Regions from separate parts of the Homo sapiens genome. Here region 2 is linked to region 1. The links are contacts of gene promoters, found by promoter capture Hi-C in human tissues and cell types (Jung and others, 2019). All regions are on one chromosome and are shown on one strand. The core of a region is centred on a gene start or on the middle of the fragment in contact, and the rest is flanking DNA. Distances in the headings are between cores, read along the strand shown.

Region 1 (5,771 bases), core at 1-2,500:
TACTCAGTCTCAGGTATTCTGTTGTAGTAGCACAAAACTAAGACACTGCCCAGTATACCAGCTACATGTGACTATCAAGCCCCTGAAATATGGATAGTCTGAATTGAAATGTGCTTAGCCTGGCATGGTGGCTTACATCTGGAGTGCCAGCTCCTTGGGAGGCTAAAGCGCGAGGGTCCCTTGAGCCTAGGAGCTCGAGACTGCAGTGAACTATGACCACATCACTGCACTCCAGCCTGGGCAACAGAATGAGACCCTGTCTCTTAAAAATAAAATAACAAAATAAAACAATTGTGTTGTGAACATAAACTACTCATCAATTTCAAAGACTTAGTATGACAAAAATAAAAACAAATCATTTCTATATTGATTACAGATGTAATTATAATATTTTAAATAACTGGGTCAAATAAACTAGATCGTTAAAATTAACTTCACCTGCTTATTGCTGCTTTCTTAGATGTGGCTACTAGGAAATTTCGAAATGCACACATGGCTCATCTTTGTAGCTCCAATTCTATTTCAATTGGACGGTGCCCCTTTAAGGAAGTTTGCCTCAGTTCAAGGCAGACGTGCCCTCAAATGAGTTTGTTTCAAATTTATTTAAAACAAAGCCTGGGTGTGGTGGCTCCAGCCTGTAATCCCAGCACTTTGGGAGCCCAAAGAAGGTGGCTCGCTTGAGGCCAGCGGTTCAAGACCAGCCTGATCAACATAGTGAGACCCTGTCTCTATTAAAAAAAGCTACAAAAATTAGGCAACATGGTGGCACATGCCGATTGTCCCAGCTATTCAGGAGGCTGAGGCAAGAGGATCTATTGAGCCCAGGAGGTCAAGGCTACAGTGAGCTGTGATCAAACCACTGCACTCCAGCCTAGGCAAGAGAATGAGACCCTATTTCAAAAAACAAAGAAAAAAAAATTCGTTTTGCTTTCAGAGCTTTTGGATTTCTGGGTTGAATTGCAATTGCTAGATCAAAGATCTAGCCTGTGAGCCTGGAGAATCAGGGCTGAGAAGGACAGGGCGGGCAGCCCTCTCCCCAGCATCCCGTGGACAGCAGGCTCTACGCCCAGGACTGGCCTAACCTCCGCTGCCTAACCGTCATCCCCCTGCAGCCACCCTTCCCAGAGTCCTTTGCCCAGGCCACCCCAGGCTTCTTGGCAGCCCTGCCGGGCCACTTGTCTTCATGTCTGCCAGGGGGAGGTGGGAAGGAGGTGGGAGGAGGGCGTGCAGAGGCAGTCTGGGCTTGGCCAGAGCTCAGGGTGCTGAGCGTGTGACCAGCAGTGAGCAGAGGCCGGCCATGGCCAGCCTGGGGCTGCTGCTCCTGCTCTTACTGACAGCACTGCCACCGCTGTGGTCCTCCTCACTGCCTGGGCTGGACACTGCTGAAAGTAAAGCCACCATTGCAGACCTGATCCTGTCTGCGCTGGAGAGAGCCACCGTCTTCCTAGAACAGAGGCTGCCTGAAATCAACCTGGATGGCATGGTGGGGGTCCGAGTGCTGGAAGGTGAGTGAGCCCCAATTCCTCTGGCTGGACACTGGGAAGCTAGCTCTCAGCTTTGTCCCCTGCCCTGCTCTGTACGCCTGGGACCTGGCAGACTCCTGGCCCCAGTATAGCCTGCCTCGGCTATAAGGAGAGAGGAGGCCAGGGGCTGGATCTTCCTGGCGGCTGTGGCCCAGCTAACTGTTACGCAATTTTTTAGAAGTAGGAAAGATTTAAAGGCAACATGGGAAGGGATTTGGGAATTATCTTTTTCTCAGAATGAAATGATCCATTTGACAGCCCCTCCTCACAACGCCACGAACAAGGGGAGCAGGGAGAGTGCCCCGTTAACAGATATTTGTGGGAAGACCCCTCCCCTTGAATGAGGTGGCTGTGGACAAAACTGAGGACCCTCAAGATCGGGTTCCCACCCCACTTCCTCCACTTGCAGCCAAAGTCTCCTGAAGGTTCTGCAAAAACAGTCAAGTGTTTGTTTAGCTTTGAGAGCTATAAGATCCCCAAGAAGGGGGCTGGAGACAGGCCAAGGTAAACACACACATGCGCACATCATGCACACACACACAAGCACACATGCACGCACGCACACACACATGCACATCACACACACAAGCACGCATGCACGCATGCACACAAGCATATCACACACACACACAAGCACACAGGTGGCTCCCACAGGGCTGGGTGCTTCCTGGGGCGCATGTGATAGCAAAAGCTGTAGTTCACTAAGTATCTGCTCAATGTGGGCACAACCCAGGTGCATTGCATGGGGTACTTCAGTGCCCTCTCCCCGTCATCCCTGAGGTTACACCCATTATTATTATCCTCTTTTAGCAAAGAAGGGAGGGGGTTCTCTTAATCATGACTGGGCAGCATTCACTGGGAAAGCGGCCCCACCTAACAGCCTCAGACCAGGGTCCCCACTCCTTGGCAGCTGCAGTGAGCCCGGCTTCTCCACCCACGCCACATCCCACATCCACTGCCCCTTCTCCTCTCAATAATCTTGCTCCATAACAGATTCCCTAGGAATTCAGTGCTTAATACAACCACACCCGTGAACTGTGCCCAGAAGGGAGCAAAGGCAGTGCCAGTGCCTAGAACAGAGCTTCAGAACTGGACTGCCCAGGTTCAAATCCTGGATCTCCCCCAACTGGCTGCATGGCACTGAGTTAACTGCTCTCGTGGAGTTTTGGTTTCCTCATCCTTCAGCTGCAGCTGGTGGATGGGAGTATCACACGATCATGCACATGTGTCTCATGAGATTGTGTGTATATGTCATCTTACCAGTGGGGCTCAGTACTTGTCAGCCATTACTGTTTCCATCTATCAAAGCATTGAGCATCCTTGACTAGCAGCAACGGCTTCCTCACCTGTGTCTCTCTAAACAATGAGCTCCCAGTGGGCAGGGTCTACGTCCCATTGCAGTGGTCCCCAACCTTTTTGACACCAGGGACTGGTTTTGTGGAAAGCAATTTTTCCATGGACTGAGGTGGAGGGGAGGGTTTCAGGACAATTCACGTGCATTAAATTTATTGTGCACTTTATTTTTTATTTATTATTATTATTATATTATTATTATTTTGAGACGGAGTCTCGCTCTGTCGCCCAGGCTGCAGTGCAGTGGTGCCACCTCAGCTCACTGCAACCTCCACCTCCAGGTTCAAGCGATTCTCCTGCTCAGCCTCCCAAATAGCTGGGACTACAGGTACCCACCACCACGCCCGGCTAATTTTTGTATTTTTGGTAGAGATGAGGTTTTACCATGTTGGCCATGCTGGTCTTGAACTCCTGGACTTAAGTAATCCACCTGCCTCGGCCTCGCAAAGTGCTGGGATTACAGGCGTGAGCCACCGTGCCCAGCCCACTTTCTGTTTATTGTTATTATGTTATAATATATAATTATACAACTCGCCACAATGTAGAATCAGTTGAAGCCCTGAGACTGTTTTCCTGCAAGTAGATAATCCCGTCTGGGGGTGATAGGAGACGGTCTCAGATCATCGGGCATTAGATCCTCATAAGGTGTGTGCAGCCTAGATCCCTCGTATGTGCAATTCACAACAGGGTTCACACTCCTGTGAGAATCGAATGCAGCCACTGATCTGACAGCAGGCGGAGCTCAGGCGGTAGTGACAGCGAATGATGGGGAGTGGCTGTAAATTACAGATGCAGCTTAGCTCGCTCACCCACCACTCACCTCCTGCTGTGCGGCCCCATTCCTAACAGGCCATAGACCAGTAATGGACTGGAGGTTGGGGACCCCTGTCCTATTGGACTTTGTAGACCCGGTGCAATCACAGGAGGAGACACTCTGACACACAGGGAGCCCCTCCCTGTCAGCACTCCCAAGCCTTTACTTCTTCCCTGCGGGTTTGCCCATGGAGGGGGCTGAGCAGAGGGGGCGTGCCAGAGCCGGTCGCCCTGGAGGACTACCTCAGCATCCTTCTTAACCTAGCCCATCCTCCCTAACAAGGTTCCTACCTGACTGCAGCTGCCCCACTTCATCCCTCGCCCTCTCAGCCCTGCGTGAATGCTCTCACTCGGATGTTCTCACTCATGTCTCCCCAATTTCTGGCCACCTCTGGATCTTCACCATTGTCTCCCACCTCAACAAAGCCACTGCTAGCCCACAGGGTACCTCTGTGGGAATTAGAAAAAGGCACTTCCTTCCTGAAGTCACTTGACAGCCATCTGCTGGGAAATTGTCTTACTGCATATACAAACCCATGATCCAAATGTGTGTTGCCCTTGTGCAGTGTACAACCTGCTCAACTGTACACAGTGGTTCTCTACCCTGCAACCTTTCTCTGGCCATCCAACAAGAAAGTATATGAGTCAAGGATTTGAGGATTTGAACCTCAAGTATCAAAGATTTGAACCCAGGCCCGCCTCCAGAAACCAAGCTCTCAGCCACCACCTTCTACTACTCTGACACCCATTCTCATTGCCCAGATCACCCCCATCCTGGCCTCATTTCCAGTCAGCTCAGTAAATCCTTCCCCTCTGAGTGCTGGAGAAGGCAGAGAGGCTCCCAGGAAGCATTAGACTTTGGGGCATTTTTTTTTCTTGTTCCAAGGCAAAAAAAGGTCCCGATTCCAAATAGTTGAATGAATTAACTCTGTTCCCTTCCAGAGCAGCTAAAAAGTGTCCGGGAGAAGTGGGCCCAGGAGCCCCTGCTGCAGCCGCTGAGCCTGCGCGTGGGGATGCTGGGGGAGAAGCTGGAGGCTGCCATCCAGAGATCCCTCCACTACCTCAAGCTGAGTGATCCCAAGTACCTAAGAGGTGAGCACACGCAGGGTGTCCCATTCCCTCAGGAATAGCGCCTATGGGGATATTGACTGAAATAACCCAGCGTGGGCTCTCCTGGGGCAAGGCTGGGCTGGGACAGTCCGTAACCAACTTGGACCTGTCTGCTGAGCAAGCCACAGACGAGCCCTGGGGACGTGCGGTCATCCTTGACTTCAGACTCTGACGGGCTCTCCTACCCACACAGAGGTGTGCAGAGGAAGCAGGGTGTCTTCTCTCAAGCATTCAGCGCACGCACAAGCTGGAGGTCCTGGTCCTAGACTAGAGCGGAGAGGCTGGGCTGTCCCAGAGGGGAGAGTATCCAAAAGGCAATTCAACCCTTTGCACAGCAAACAGTAGTGTCCCATGTCACCAAATTATTTTAATCCACTTCATTAAATGTCAGTAGAAATTCCCGAAGTTGTCCACACACTATTTTTCAAAACAGTGGGGTTTATCTTTCTCATGCCTTATGACCACTGAGAGTCTCTCTCTCCTCACCAGCCCCGAGTGACCCTGCAAAAGGTCCCATCTAATAAGTTTGGCTGAGTTGTTCCTGGATGGCAAGGGCGGGGCACAAATAACCAGTCCATCATGCTGCTCCAACCCTGTCCCCTCTGCTCCCCACTCCCATCAGATGCATGGGGGTGAGCGGGGAGGTAGCCAGGCCACGCTTCATGCTCACACGGCAGTCCAGCCGCAGGGACCATAGCCCATGCTGACCTTTCCAATTTTAAGGTCCCCCACCCTCTCCCAGGCCTGGTCCCTAACACTGTCCCCACCTATGTCATCTTAAAGATATCTATGACTGGGCATCTGTTTAGTTAAGAGCTCCACGTTCTCACCAAACCAAAAGGTCTACCAATATCACCTCCCCACTAATTCCACCTCCCCACTTGTTTTTTTTTTTGGGGGGGTTTTTTTTTTTTTTTTTTTTGAGACAGTGTCTCACTCTGTCTCTCTTTTTTTTTTTTTTTTTTTTTTTTT
Region 2 (6,255 bases), core at 1,149-3,648, 440 kb before region 1:
AACTAGCATGTCAGAGGGGCCGGGGACTGTCCATGGGGGTTTCCCTTCTACATTTTTCCCCACTCCTGATGGGACACCTTGCTCATGGGTCAATGCCATGTGAGCTTCCCAGGGCTGCCATAACAAATCACCCCAAACCAGATGGCCTAAAACAACACATAAGCATTCTCATGCTGGAGGGCAGAACTCTAAGATGGAGGTGTCAGCAGGGCCACACTCCCTCTGAAGGCTCTAGGAAGAGACCCTCCTTGCGTCTTCCCAGCTTCTGGTGGTTCCAGCGATCCTTGGGGTTCATTGGCTTGTGGCTGCACCTCTCCCACCTCTGCCTCTGTCTTCACATGGCCTTTTTCCTCTGTGTGTGTCTGTTTCCAAAGTTCATCTTTTTATAAGGACACCAGTCACTGGATTAAGACCCACCCCACTCCAGTATGACCTCATCTTAACTGGATTATACTGCAAAGACCCTATTTCCAAATAAGGTCACATTCACAGGCATGAAGGGTTAGGACTTCAACATATCTTGTGGTGGGGGACACAATTCAACCCACAACAGATGCTGTCTTCAGACCCAGAAAACAGAGTACGTGGCTCTCTGCCAATTCCAGCCCACTGGGAAGCTGCCTGCTCTCTCCCATTCCCACGCCAACCCCCATTCATGCACCACATGTTTTCTGAACACCTATGTGTGCCACCCACTGATGGAGAAACTGGGGGGAACAAAGCCAAGACAATCCCTCCTCGCATGGAGCTTGCATTCTGCTTGGGGAGCAGTGAGAGAAAATCAACAGCAACAAATAAAGGAAACCATCTCCAATCATGGCAAATGGTATAATAATAGCAACAGCAGTGATGACAGTCATGGTGGCCGCAGTGGTTGGTGTTGCTTATTCGGTGCCAGGCATCATTCTAATTCACACACCCGAATTTGTTTTCTTCATCCTGACCACAACCCAAGTAGCTACTTATCAACCTCACTTTACAGGCAGGGAAATTGAGGCACAGAGAGCCTGCACACAACCAACAGCAGAGCCTGGATCTGAACCCAGGCAGCCAAGCTCCAGGGGTCCATTATGAAGAAAACAAAAAGGTAGAGAACAGAATAGGCTTTGAGATCTGGTGGTCTCTGAGACGGGGCTTTTGAGTCAAGACTTGAAGAAAGACTAGTAGGGGGGACTCCAGATTGGAGTGGGTGGAGGGGGAAATGCAAATGGAGGGTATCAAAATGCTAAAAGGATCTATAGCTGGAGAAGAGTTTAGACCCCACTCCCAAGGTGGAAGCTCCTGAATTACCCAGTGGTCGTACCCAACAGAGCAGACTGGTAAAACTTTCAACATTTCAAGAAAGAAGGGGTCTTGGAGATCAAGATGTCCCTGGGGAAGCCGTAACCCACACCTCACTCCCTTCTCTGTGGCGTCATCTCCAGTCTATAGCCCACCTTCTCTGTGATCAGGCCAGCCCCACTGCCTGGGGTGATTAATAGGTTTAATTTATCATTAACTTCCATGGAGCTGAGCTAGGCTGGCTGCACCTCCAGAGCAGTGTGTGGGCAGCTGCAGGGTGAGCAGAAGCCTTTGTGTACTTATTTATATTCATTTTGCACTGGGGACATTCCTAATTTGTTTGTTTTTCTCTGGTCTGGGTTCACGTACCTGAACTTGGAAGGCTGGGACTAGACCAAGAAAGGATTGGGGTTTAGAGTCCACGGAGTCAGAGAAGGACAGAGAGGGAGAGAAAGGACAGAGGACGACCTGTGAGGAGCTATCCGCGACTTACGTCTCTGTGCCTGCAGGCTGCCAAGCATCCTATTCTCGCAAATGTGGCTGGAGCAAGTTGCTGGTGCAGGCACAGTGCTCAGTACTGGTGTAGGAGAGGTGGGAGGACACTGGGAACCCTGCCTTCAGAAAGTTCCCGGAACACTGTGAAGACAGGCACATTAATGATTTCAAAGCAAGCTTGGCAGACCAGCAGGAGGAGGTGTGTGAGGCAGTGTGGGCTCAAAGGCAAGGGAAGGGCTCCTCATTTCTGGTGAGGTTTCAGAGTCTAGGACTCTGAGAGATACCCTGAAATCCAGGCATCATCTTCCCTCCTTCCCTAACTGATATACACACAATCTGGGTCAATGCGGGAGGGGAGGGTGAGAAAAAGTCTATAGCAGAGAGATTTTGAGCAGGGATGGAAGGGTGAGAGTGGGCTCTGTTTGCTGGTAGAAATGTCATGGCAGGGTGAGGCTTCATCCCTCTAGACACACACGCAAACCACGGTCTAGGGAGAAGGTACCAGACAGCTGCCAGGGGTATCCCCAAGCAGCCCTCCAAAAGCCATGGACTTCACAAGTGTGGCAGAATGGGTCTCTCTTCCCTCTCCCGCTTCCTGGACAATGTAAGATGGTATCTTTTGTCACACAATTCAAGGCTGGAAAGGAGAGACATACTCTGTATGTGATAAGACACAGGCACTCACCCAGGGAAGACAGTATTCAGCACAGTGCCTGATGTAGTTGCATGTAAGCTCCTCCCAAAAACCAGACCACTGTGAGGGGTAAGAGGGGCTGCAGGAGACAGGGCTTCTGGTGGGACTCTCTGCCCACCCACATAGGGCACCCCTGGAATCTCAGGCTGCAAATGTTGCTCAGACACTAAACCCACCCCCAATTCTCTACCACCCTATAAAAATGTGTAGCTGGAGTCTGAAATATGAGATAGAACAAACTCTGGGATTCTAGGAGCAGCAATAGAAGCAGAATAAGACGACAGGCACCAAGCAGGGAAAATGCAGGCTTTGGTTCAATGGTTTCTGCCACCTACAGTTCAGGGTTATCCCAACGCCCCCTGCGTTAAGCACAGAGGTGGAAATTCCAGGTTTTAAGTAGAGGAGAAGGGGGCAAGAAGGGGTCATACAAGAGGTTTATGCAGCCTACAATGTCAAGCTTTCATTGCTTGCTTTAATAACAGCTTTACTGAGCTATAACTCATACACTGCACAATTCCCCCACTGAAAGTGCCCATCTCAAGTGGTGTTTGGTATATCCACAGGGCTATGCAACCAGCGCCTTGACCAGCTTTAGAACACGTTCATCACTCCTCAAAGAAACCTGCACCCTTCAGCTCTCACCTCCCAAACCCATCGTCCCCAGCCCCTAGGACAACCACTGATTCACTGTCTCTAGGGATTCACTGTCTGTCTCTACAGATCTGCCTAGTCTGAAAGTTTCCTGGAATGGCCTCCTTCCTTCTCCACAGGGGTCAGCAAGCCCTCATGCCAGCTCCAACGTCACCGCTCATGGCCAGTTACTCCCTTGGTCTTCCCAAGCCTCCGCATCCTCCTCTGAAGGTGGGGCTGGTGAGGGTTCCTTCCCCACAGAGCTGCAGGGAGGATTATGGAAGTTAATGCCTATGGCAGTGTCTGGTGTCTAGCAAATGCTCAGCAAATGGTAGACAGTACATCTGCTCTTGTGTGCTTGTGCCTGGTTTACTTGCTGGGAGCCAAACCGGGCCCTCCCCTTTGATGATAAGTAACAGACAATCCAACCCACCAGGCGCGTGGAGGGCGTCAGCAGAGCCTATCTGTGAATGGAGGCATTTTTATGATCGTGCGTGTGTGGACAGTGACTGCCTCAGCTCTTGGTCAGAAAGGTCAATGCCATTGGCCCTACTGCAGGAAACTGCTTCTCAATGGCCTGAAGACAAAAGCCCCAGGTTTCCTTGTTATCCAGGAGCCTGGGCCAGGCTGGGCAAGCGTTGCAGAGCCAAGTCCGAGGCCCAGCAGGCTCCTGGCAGGCCCTGCCTCAAAGTTGGCAGCTGTTGGGTCCTGGGAGGCGGCCTGCTCTGTGCTCTGGGCTCTCAGGGATCAGGGAAGGGGTAGGAATAATCAGGTGACATGCTCCAGGGGTGCTGCTGCTCTTGGCAGAGCCTCAAATCGAGTTTGAAATGAGTAATCCTGAGCCAAGCTGCTTGTGCTGTGAGCAATGAGGCTGGTTGGCAAGTTCCCTCCGCCCCCAGCCATCGCCCTCTGGAGATGCTGCTCCAGATGCCAGGAAGGGGCTGGAGGGGCCCCAAACCAGCCCCCCAGAGACAAAGGGTAAGCCAGCTCTCCTCACCATGATGAGAAGAGGGGCATGGCTGAGCCTCAGCAAAGAAGAAAGGAGGCTATTTATATGAAATGGCCACAACAGGCAAATCTGTAGAGATAGAAAGTAGATGAGTGTTTGCCAGGGGCTGGGAGGACCAGACAATAGGGGTTTGATAGCTTAAGAGTAGAGAGTTTCTTTGGGGAGGGGATGAACATGTTCTAAAAGTGATGGTGGAGATGGTTGCACAACTTTGAATATACTTAAAACCATTGTCTTGGCCAGGTATGGTGGCTCATGCTTGTAATACCAGCACTTTGGGAGGCCGAGGCAGATGGATCACCTCAGGTCAGGAGTTCAAGACCAACCTGACCAACATGGGGAAACCTCATCTCTACTACAATAACAAAAAGTAGCCTGGTGTGGTGGCTCACACCTATAGTCCCAGCTACTCAGGAGGCCAAGGCACAAGAATCGCTTGAACCCAGGAGGTAGAGGCTACAGTGAGCCGTGATTGCGCCATGCGCCACTGCACTCCAGCCTGGGCGACAGAGCAAGACTCCGTCTCAAAAAACAAAAACAAAACAAAGAAAGAAACCAGTGTCTTGTACACTTGAAATTGATGAATTATATGGTGTGTGAATTATATCTCAGTAAACCTATTCCAAAAAGAAGAGGGGTGAGGGAGATTCAAGAGTGGGGGACAGTGGTGAAATTACTTCCCACGGGTACAACTCTCTGTCCGTAATACCAGAGGTCCTCTTGGATCTTCCTATAAGAACAAAAATAAGTGCAAAGATACATGGGGTACTGCACAGAGGAGGACACTGTGGCACAGAGATGTTAATTCTCTTGCCGGAAGTCACACAGCAGTCAATGGCAGAACTGCGGCTCCACCCTGGGGGTGTGGTTCCAGAGCCTGCACCCTTCTCTCCTGTGCCCTGTTTCCCCAGCTGAAATGCAGCTTCCACACTTGCATGGGGCATCTGAAAAGCCCCAGGGAAGAAAGAGGAAATATTTTAGGAGAGATGTGTATTGGACACGTCTAAATAGAATGATCCAAGCAATCGTTGTAGCAAGATCAGAATTTCCTCTGCAGGGGGAGTCCATCTTTCTAGGGACTGTATTGTTCAAGATCTCAATCAGAATTGCTCCTGTGCTCTGGTCTCCCTGCCCTGGCTATTTCTCAGGGTCCCCTGAGACGCGGAAGAGTCTGGAACTGACGGGAGATGGTCTGATAAAGTTCCAGCCTTCGGGGGCAGGCTCTGGTGCACTGCAGACTCTGCAGACATCTGCAGACAGACTATAACTCAATAGAGGATTCTGTTAATATGGTTGCTGCCTGTTCTAACCCCTTCGACTCCCAGCCTAACCACTGCAGAGATAACAGAGGCTGGAGGCGCCTTGGACCTGATTGCATTTTCTCCCCTCTCGCTGCCCTGCAAAGATGGACTTTGTCAGGCTTCTGCTGCCACCTACAGTAACAGCAACAAAAGGCAGGTCTCCAGCCAGACCCAGAGAAGCAGAGCAGGGGGCTTCCAGAACAGGGACACTAGGGGCCGGAGCCTGAGGTCCAACCTCCATGTCCACCCCCTGACCCTCAGGCAAGCCGAGGAAGAATGATCAGGAGCCTTCTCCACATCCCACCCCTACAGTGTCCACATCCCACCCTTACAGTGTCCCCATCCACTGGGACACACCAGCACAGAAGTCACACAGGGACGGGAGGACCATCTCTCCATTTCATGGGGTGAAAGGCATCCCTGCCGTTCTTCCTAAAGATTTCCTGAGGATATTCTAATCCTTCTGCCCAAAGCTGCTGCCTCCATGCCATCTCATTCACCCCCTACTCTAGGAAGCCTCTCTTGATTTCTTCCCCTAGTTTAGCTAACCCTACAACCACCTTCTGCCGGCCATACTGGTCACTCTAAATTGTAGCTGCTTACCTGTCTCCTCAGTAATCATAACAATTAATAATAATAATAATAATAATAATAGTGAGCTGGGCATGGTGGCTCATGCCTGTAATCCCAGCACTTTGGGAGGCCAAGGTGGGAGGATCACTTGAGGCCAGGAGTTCGAGACCAGCTTGGGCAACATAGCAAGACCCATCTCTACAAAAAAAATAAATAAATAAAAATTAGCTGGGCATGGTAACAAATGCCTGTAGTCCCAGCATGTACTGGGA

The links. Contacts are between HindIII fragments. The study calls those that stand out against the background at their distance.
Region 2: a fragment that was not itself captured here is called in contact with the fragment with the promoter of C16orf89 in region 1 in 1 of the 25 tissues and cell types used here (dorsolateral prefrontal cortex).

What each region holds. Positions count from the first base shown.
Region 1 is chr16:5,061,435-5,067,205 of GRCh38, reverse strand. C16orf89 (chromosome 16 open reading frame 89) reads left to right here and starts at 1,250. Exons shown (of 8, transcript NM_001098514.3): 1 at 1,250-1,505; 2 at 4,632-4,781. The coding sequence starts at 1,298. The HindIII fragment of the contact is 22,288 bases long and covers 1-5,771 here.
Region 2 is chr16:5,501,835-5,508,089 of GRCh38, reverse strand. It overlaps a transcript of RBFOX1 not described here. Among named protein-coding and RNA genes, the nearest start is that of LINC01570, 110 kb to the left of the region's middle. The HindIII fragment of the contact is 5,460 bases long and covers 1-5,128 here.